Regions from separate parts of the Homo sapiens genome. Here region 1 is linked to region 2. The links are contacts of gene promoters, found by promoter capture Hi-C in blood cells and fetal thymus (Javierre and others, 2016). All regions are on one chromosome and are shown on one strand. The core of a region is centred on a gene start or on the middle of the fragment in contact, and the rest is flanking DNA. Distances in the headings are between cores, read along the strand shown. Region 1 has its middle 14 kb from the start of PLEKHM3. Region 2 holds the start of KLF7 (KLF transcription factor 7).

Region 1 (4,901 bases), core at 1,225-3,724, 870 kb after region 2:
CAGATAAAGGAATACTAGACATCAAAATGTTTATTAGGTGATGGACATATAGTCATCCTTCCAGTTTAAGATCTAAGAGCAATACTCAAACAGAAATCAAATAAATGTCTATGACAATTAAGGCAAACATACTCATTTGTCTACAAGCAAAGAGCATTTTGGAAAGAACACTCCCTTGTTCAAATTTTGGTGAACTGGTTGTGGAGACAAAAGTGACTCCATCTTGGATGCTAATCTGCCATGTTGACTTCTGATTAACCCCAGTCTGGGGAATGCCTCTAAGATTTCTATTTTTATCTATGTATACTGTCTGTAAATCCTGTTCTTAGGCCAAGACACCCTTGATGTTATCAAATCCTGCCCTTAGGCTATGACACACATAGCATTCTTCCCTTTTCCTGAGAGGTGGACTTCAATTGTCCTTATACATTCCTTCTAAAGCACATATACCCTTTCTCTGTGGTATATATCTGGGAGAAAACTGTGGAAATCTACCTGTCTGGCAGCTGCCCAAGACCATCCTTTTGTCCATAAGTTCCCCAGTAAATAACCCTCTACTGACAAACTGGATTTGTCTGCCTTGTTCTTTGGTTTCTTGGTTCCTTCTGCATTTGGGGGTTGGTTTGCGTATATGGCCCTTTCATGAAGCACACATCATGTCTTTTGTTTTTTTATTTTTAAGATACCAGGTCTTGCTCTGTTGCCCAGACTTGAGTGCAGTGGCGCAATCATAGCTCACTGCAGCCTTGAACTCCCACCTCAGCCTCCTGAATAGCTGGGACTACAGGATCAGGCCACTACACCTGGCTAATTTAAATTTGTCTTTCTCTTTTTTTACAAAGATAGGACGTTGCCCAGGCTAGTCTAAAACTCCTGGCCTTAAGTGACCCTCTTGCGTTAGCCTCCCAAAATGTTGGTACTATAGGCACGAGACACTGCACCTGGCCTGTTTTTTTGTTTTTTGTTTTTTTTTTATATCTTACCTAAGGTCCACTCCTATCTCTAACAGCCCCATCTCTTTTCTTTTCTTATGTGATCTAAAAATCTTCCCCCAACACTACACTGAGACCCAAATGAGCTTTTTTTTTTTTTTTGAGATGGAGTTTCACTCTTGTTGCTCAGGCCAAGATCATGCCACTGCACTCCAGCCTGGGTGACAGAGTGAGACCCTGTCTCAACAACAACAACAACAACTGCAGATCAAAGTTAAAGAAAGTAAGAACTAAATGGAGCATCTTTTTAGTTTTACCAAGTAGACTATTTCTTTGTCTAGGATGTCTTTCTAGAACCCAGAAACAGAAAATGGCTCTTTTATCCTGTTGGCTTCAATATAATCATTCTTCCTAGGAGGCATATGATGTGGGTGATGGGTGGGTATGTGGTGGGGAGAGGCCCTGTGATACTTAATGAGCTGCAAATAACTCACTCCCATGTATTTGTGTGAGTGGAGTCACCCTACCTACTTATGCTAGCCTGTTTTCACACTCAGTTGATTCAAAAACTGTTGAATCAGACCACTCTGGAGCTTCTGAAAAAGTCCTCCAGACAACGGTGGGCAAGAGCAGGTTGCAACCAGGTTCCATTTACGGCAGTGTTTCTGAATGTTGTTTTGTACATTTTTATTACAAAACAGTTCACGATCGAACTTATTCACACTTTCATGTTGGAGCACTCGATCCTTCCTAAATAAATTAATGTTGCCCCGTTTCCACATTCTGTGTCTGGGATATAACTTGTCTTCAAATATAAGTAAGCATTCTCATTATCAGAAAAAAGAGTTGCAAGGCATCAGGAGAGAGAGCCACAGAGGAAAATATTCCAAAGATCTTGGCATTCTTCCTATAACTTTTGTACCCTCAATCTTTTTCTTCCACATTTATGAAGCTTTTAAAACATTTTCCACCCTGAATGGCACACATTTACTGGGGTGACTTTACATTGTTTGCATTATTGTGGTTCTGGGACGTGAAGTTCTTAGAGGACAGGGGCATGTTTAGAATCACATCCTACAGAGAAGTGTTTAGTAAGTAGGAATGAGAAACATCGTCCGCAAGCATTTAAGGGAGTCTGTTTCCATTTTCAGTAAGGGCAGGTTGTCACTCAACAGGCAGATGACCCAATAGACACAGTGGTATGTTTGGTTCCTGGGAGGGATGGATGTGTAGAGAAAGGGAGGAAAAGAGGAAGAAAGCAACATTAAGCCTGATCCCTGCCATAAGCTGAGCTCCTCACCACACGCACATGCACGCACAGACACATACACACACACACACTCGCTCCTTGGCACGCAGACACACACAGAGCTTTGCTATTCTTCGGCTAATGGGATTGGCACCGCTTAAAGCAGACTGCTAGGTCATTGTCTGTGACCACAGCAAGAGAAACATTATTTAAAGACCATTCAGACCCTAAAAGAAGCGGCTGAGCAGAGTAATTATCGGAGACTCTCCATTAACTAGGGCATCTTTGCTCTTTGTCTGGGTTGGTTTAACAAGGCCCGCTAATGGGACTGTACAGGAGGGGTACACTAATGGTTCTAAAAAAGCCTCTTTTGGCCCCTTTATTACTGGGGACTGTCTTTAGAGATGCTGACAGTAAAGCAAGAAGTTACCATATTACAAAATGACCTTCCCAAAAATTTGATTTGGACCCTTGCAGCTTAGGACTCAGGTTTCCAAAATTAGAAAACATCTTTGTCTTCTCCACTTTTTAAAACTCTAAGTTGGTTCCCCGCTGCCCCCTGCCAACCCCCCGCTCCCCCGCCACTGTTCCTCTTACCTTACTTGGCCCTTTGGTTTCTTGGGAACTTGTCATTGGAAACAGCAGCACTCAGTGGTGATAAAGCAGAATGGCACTCCTGAGGAATTTCTCCTTGAGCTGGCTTCTCTACTCACTCTCCAGGACTCCACTTCTCTAGAAAAACTGCCTGTCCCATTATCACTTTTAAAATATGAAGCTAGAAGTCAATCACATGCTTACAAACCTAATACGGCCACCTAAATTAAAACTACTGTTCCATAATCAGTTAGCTTTATAACAAAGGCTTCAAATGCTTAGCTCTCCTAGAAGCTTGCATCACATACAGGGAACTCTTCTGTGCAGAGCTGTCTACCTCTCTTCATTTCCCCTCTCCCAACCCTAGACCAAGCTTCCATCTTCTCTCCTCTGGGTGACTGCAATTGTCCTGCAATCACCTCCTAGCAGCACTATTGGCCCTTTCAATCCATTAACTCTGCAACAGCCAACAGCCAGAGTAGCTCTTTCAAAACAGAAACCTGCTTAAGCATTTCAGTAGCTTCCTATTGCTCATAAGAATTCTTACTGTGATTTAAGAGACCCAGACATGGTCTGGTCCTTTTTTCCTCCCTAGCAACATCTTGTACCATGCTCCCCCTAGCGTCTGCTTCAGCCACTGCAGCCTTCTTCAATGCCATGAGCAATTCATGCTCATTCCTGCCACAGGGCCTTTGCATATCATTCTGTCTAGAACACTCTTTACCCGAGTAGTTTCCACTCATCCTTCAGCTCTCAGCTCAGTAGTCAGCCCTTCAGGAAAGTTGTCCCTTAGTGCCCCTTCTAGGTTGACGACGTCTATATCATGCAATTATAGCACCATATGCTCCTCTTCACAGCATTTACAGTAAACGTTTATACTTATCAGAATGCTTTTATGTTAATAATTACCTTGCTGTGAAACTGTAAGCTTCATGAGAATAACCACATGTTCCATAAGCAATAATTCTGCCTATTTTTGTTGTACCATCCTGTCCTCAGTGCCCAGTACAATGTTTGTGACCTGAGTGCTTAATAAATCTTTGTTGCATTGTGTATAGTGATTCAAAATACTGTACCCCGGCTCCTCCATGCCTGTTCGCAATTTTTTTTTTTTTTTAGATGGAGTCTTGCTCTGTCGCTCAAGTGATTCTCCTGCCTCAGCCTCCTGGGTAGCTGGGACTACAGGCACGTGCCACCACGCCTGGCTATTTTTTTTTCATTTTTTTTTTTTTTAGTAGAAATGGGGTTTCACCGTGTTAGCCAGGATGGCCTCAATCTCCTGACCTCATGATCTGCCCGCCTCAGTCTCCCAAAGTGTTGGGATTACAGGCGTGAGCCACTGCGCCTGGCCGCCTGTTTGCAATTTATCAACCAAAGTTTATTCCCTGAGAGGTTCCTATGTCCGGTATATTTGGGAACTACCTATATTCCATATTTTCTCAGATCAGCGTAAGGGGCCAGGTCTCTTTTCCTATGGGATTAAAGACTAATTTTCTAGTTTTAGGGGCAGAACTAGAAGCACATTCTCATTCCCCCTCTGAGAGCATCTTTACACAATAACAGACTCACAAGGCACAAGTAGACATACACAAGCTTTAGCGATGCCTCCTGTCTTCTCAAGACCCTGTGGGAAAGAGAACAGAGGGTCTATCCAAAGAAGAAGTTGAAGAATTAGAGTGTCTCAGCACTCCAGATATGCCAGCACAGAAATAGGTGGGTGGAATTGTTCCAATTATTTATGATCCCCAAGAAAACTGGGGACTTTCTCTACTGTTTAGAGAAGGAAGCATGGGCTTCAGTAGATGCAGAGTAACAGCATGGATTGGGTGTGTATTCTGTTGCCTTTAGCTGCCCTGGAGAGAAGGCCATCAGGCCATATACAGCCAGCTGAATGTACCATGACTCATACTGAATGGGATCAGGCATTCAGTGGGCTGACTGAAGCCGTGTATCCTATCACTCCTTTTAAAAATATAAAGCTATAAGCCCACAAGTTTGAGACCAGCCTGGGCAACATAGTGAGACCTCATCTCTACCAAAAACTTAAAAATTAGCGAGACGTGGTAGTGCACACCTGTATTCTCAGCTACTTGGGAGGCTGAGGTGGGAGGATTGTTTGAGCCCAG
Region 2 (4,350 bases), core at 1,697-4,196:
TCCGATAGTTGATTTGGAACTAACAGTTGCATATCACCATCACCACCCCTTATACTCAGAAGCAGCAAGACGGTTTTGGGAGGGGGAAGAAGGAAGGGCTAGAGGTTAAAGGTTTTGTCATCAGTGTAAACCTATGGTCCTAGTCGCCTTTATATAGAGCAGTTGTGATTACGGAGTCCAGAACATAAAGCTCACTGGAGTGATATATTGTTTATTAGTGCTTCCCCACAAGCTATGCATCAGCATTGGCTATAAGCATGACGCTGAATAAGTTGGCTAAGGGTTTTAAGGTGAGAGTGGCTGGCAGTTGGAGAGGGTTAAGGCAAAAAATGAGGGGGTTCCGAGGGGTGAAAAATCCTTTGCCTGTAGAAACTAAACTAGAGCTTCCCTGAATGGGGAGGAGGCAGAGGAGCAGGGGGAGGAGGGGAGAAGGAAGAGCAGAGATGGCTTCTTAGGAAACAATAGATCTAATACATCCTCTAGTTGTCAAACCGATGATGTTTCTTTGCAGATCTAGAGTTTGTCCTGGATGGTCTAGCCAGATCTAGAAAAGCAGGTTTCCTGTGAAGAGACCTTCCTCCAAATCTGGCTTTACTACTCTGAAAACTTGAACCAAAACAAAGTTGCATGATTCATCAGTAGGGAACGTTCTAACAAATAAAGCCAACTTTCTTCCTTCTAACACTGCTTAACAGTTAGTCACAAACAAGGGCTGCCTTGGGCAGGCTGACTAAATCAACAGATTCCCTTCTCTAACCTGTCTAGACAGTTGTTAATATGCAACCGATTCCATACCAGTGGGCTGACAGTGTGAAATGAAGGCTATTTCAGAAGATTTTGGTTTAATTAGCATTGGAAATAAAAGGAAGAAAAAGATCCAGTGAGACCCTTCATGAGACACACTCTCGTTAAGGATAAGGAAAAGGATGCATTGAAGAAAGACTTTATTCTAAAAATATGTGAACTGTGTATGTGTTTACAGAGAGACAGAGTCAAGCATCTGCTAGCGTCCTTGGACAAGAATGCATGTGTGGACACAGAGACACCAGACGCCAATACCTGGAGGAAAACTCACAGCCTCTGACCAGAAGTGAACTAGCAACAATGGTACAGTTAAAGGATCCGCCTTGCCACTCGGCTCCTTATACCAAAAGCCAAACCTCTTTTGCTAAAGCAGAGACTGTTACATCTCAGCCTCAAGCTGGCAAATCCTGCTTTGGATCCCGGCAGAGGAAATTCAGCCGTTCATTAGCCTTAACAAGCTGCTGTCACTAAGCGAAGAAATTACACGAGCAGCCACACACCGAGCCTCTCACAGCCCTCCCCCCAAGGGCAAGCGGGTTTCTCCAGGACGGACTGTACAAGTTCACACTTCCTATGTGCAAATCCGGACTGTCTTCTTGGACTTTCCATGGTGCACACTGTACAATTTTTAAATACCCGTGTCCCCCCGCCCCCACCCACCATCTTTCCTGCAGAATGTCCCCTCAGCAGCTCCTAATCGCTGCTGAAAAAAACCACTGTTTCCGCAGCAGAGCCAGCACTTTCCACTGACCAGCACTTTCTTTATTCCACTTCACAAAGCCCAGTGAACTTGTCACCAGCCCCACTTCATCCTCCCTGGGACGGCTAGCCAACTTGGCATCGGTGCCCTTCAGCATCCTGGGAGTTTCTTAACTAGTCCTCTAAGACAAAGTCAAAGGCATGGAAGCACACATCAGCCTTTGTCCGAGGTTGTGCTGCCTAACTAGAGAAGGACCCTAAACAAAAAAGAGAAACAAGGACACGCATAGAGGGTGTTCTCTTTCTGGAGGGATCACACTGGGAAAACCTACAATTCATTGTCAGCCTCAGCTACATCTTCCCGTCCTCCTTGAGTATCTTTTGTCAGTGGGCTCTTCTCTCTTTTGCCTACCTTCTAATCTCAAAATCAAGCTCCTATTCTTTATTGACACTCGCTAATTACTGAAAAACACTCCGCTTTGCTCCTGCCCACCCTCCCCCGCCCCCCATCCGATGGTCATAAGCACCAGTTGAAACAGATGAACCTGATTTCAGGTATCAAGTGGGTAGAGCTCATGCATGCGAGAACGTGGTCCCTGTCAGCAATCGCTCCTAACACCCCAAACCACCTTCCCACCCGGCTCCTCCGAACCCCAGAAGTTCGGCAGGTCTCTGATAGGGGACAGCAAACCCGACAACGTGTGCGCAGGGATGTGTGTTGGCGACTGAAACGCAGGCAGCTCGCACCGGCTGCTCAGCTCGGCACTCTACGAGGTTAGGGGTGGGTGGAGAGGTAAGCGCAGATGACTGTTTCAGAAAACATTTTCAACAACAGACAGCCAAAAAGGAAGAAAAAAAAGTCAAACAAACAAACAAAAATTTCAACCCAGAGCCCACACCAACGCAGCCCCTGCGTCTCCGCCGCCACCACACGATTTACACAAGTAATTTAAATCATTCACCTGCTGCCAGGTCTCCTCCAGGGATGGTAAAGCTGAGAAGTAGCCGGTGTCGTGGACAAGTTGTAGCTCCTGGAATATACTATAACTAGCCAACACGTCCATGCTGCTGCTGCCGGGCAAAACGGGAGGCGAAACCCTCCCCCGAACACAGTTGGGGCTGTTTGTTTGTCAGTCTGTCTGGCTCACCCCCCAAGAAGGCAGACATCCAGTGGCCCTTTTGTTTTGTTTTGTTTCAGTCAACTAAAAAGGAAAAAAAAAAATCAATGCAGGAGAGGGAGAGAGGAGGTGAGAGAGGAGCGAGTGAGTGGGGTGGATGGAGAGAGGCATCCAGCGTGTACAGTGCAGACGACTGCCAGGAAAAGGGGACTTCTCCACGGGAGTAACAATTCCCTTCCAGGGCTCTAATCACTCCAGCTCGTGGATCAGGAAGGGGGATGCAAACTCACTGACACGAAGCTGCCATCTATTTCTGCAGCGCTGTTCGCTCCTAATGCAATCTTTGCTCTTTATTTTGGGAGGTTGCATTTTTTTCTCTCGCGATCGCTTCTCTTCCCCCCCCTTCCCTTCCCTCCCCACCCCCCACCCCATCCTTGCTAGTTTGTAGTCTTCCCCCTCCCTTTTCTCCTCCTCCTGCTCTTCCCCCTCCCCAAACTCCCTCCCTCCGTTCGGTTCTCCGCGCAGCCGTGGGATCTCGAGGAGGGCGTCCATTAGGCCGCGTGTGACCATGTAAGGTAAACAGGGGGCTCATGAAGTCACTGAGGACCAATGGGGAGCCCGGAGCAGAGCCTGGGGCGGGGCTTGGCCCTGGCGGCGGGCGCGGATTGGCACGCTGCGGATCTCCCTGCTGCCTTACAAGGCGGTGCGAGGCGAGCTATTTTTAGAGGGCTATATAAGGGGGCTGAGGCGGCCGCCCGGCGGCCGGGCAGCGCGAGCGCAAGGGACAGGGAGGGTCGTGGCGACACTCGCGCCAGCTCCCGGGACGGCTGGGCTCGGGCTGGTCGCCGACCTCCGACCCTCCACTAGATGCCTGGCAGAGCCCGGCGCGTCCGGAGCCCGCGCCCCTCAGAGGGAAGGGGTCGCGCGTCGCCGCGGCGGCCCTGAGGCTGACGGTCGGGAGGTGAAAGGCCGGAGTGCGGGGTCAGGACGCCTCCTGGAGGGGGCGCGGCGCAGGGGGCCGCGGGGAAGCCGCCGAGGGCGCGGAGCGGGAAGGAAGGACAGTGGCCACCCCGCCTCCGCCTGGGCACGGGGCAGGGACCCGCGCGAGGCGGTGCCGGGGAGGTCCTCACGTACTCAAAAACAAGCAGAAAAGGCATCCAGGGCCCCTTCCCGAACTCCCCACGGGCTGCCAGGGTGCAGAGAAGAAGCGCCTGAGGAGGAAGTGCCACACAATGGGAGAGAACAAAGGGGAGCGGAGCGAGACCGCGGCCTGCGCCCGCCCCCCGCTTGCGCACAGTCCCCGCCCCGCCCCGCGGGCGCCGCCGCCGCCGCCCTCCCTCCCGCGCCTCCTTCTGACCCCGAGCGAGAGACCTGGTCGGGAGTCCGGCGGCTAGAGTTGATTGCAAGGGGCCTGTTGCTCGACTGTGCGTTAAAGAGGCTAGAGGGAGCCTAGGTAGACGTGGGGCGCAAGCTGGAGCCGGCAGCTTGCGAGGGGGCCTTTACGTGATGAGGCTCACCATGGGGTCTCCAGCGAGGTGTCTGCAGAGCTTCGATGGTGAGAGGAGGAACTCGATTTCTCGTTTTCTGGAGTTGGGATGTAGACATAGAGAGATCTGTTACATCTGAGATGAAAACCCTGCACAATTCACGTTAGGGTTGGCCAATTGTTTGCTTGACCTTAAATGGTTAGTGTGGTTTAAGCTTCCCCAAAATGCGCTGTGAGCTGAGC

What was found. Contacts are between HindIII fragments. The CHiCAGO score rates a contact against its expected background, and 5 or more counts as called.
Region 1: a fragment that was not itself captured here is called in contact with the fragment with the promoter of KLF7 in region 2 in 1 of 17 cell types (neutrophils); the score reaches 5.6 in neutrophils.

The regions. Positions count from the first base shown.
Region 1 is chr2:208,037,570-208,042,470 of GRCh38, forward strand. No RefSeq gene overlaps it. Among named protein-coding and RNA genes, the nearest start is that of PLEKHM3, 14 kb to the left of the region's middle. The HindIII fragment of the contact is 1,185 bases long and covers 1,883-3,067 here.
Region 2 is chr2:207,163,002-207,167,351 of GRCh38, forward strand. It overlaps KLF7 (KLF transcription factor 7), which reads right to left and starts at 2,947. Exons shown (of 4, transcript NM_003709.4): 1 at 2,466-2,947. The coding sequence starts at 2,567. MIR7845 (microRNA 7845) reads left to right here and starts at 3,399; the gene lies at 3,399-3,497. RefSeq lists enhancers at 1,249-1,957, 2,559-2,658, 2,666-3,374, 3,375-4,082, 4,083-4,350 and 1 more and a silencer at 3,149-3,788. The HindIII fragment of the contact is 8,010 bases long and covers 1-4,320 here.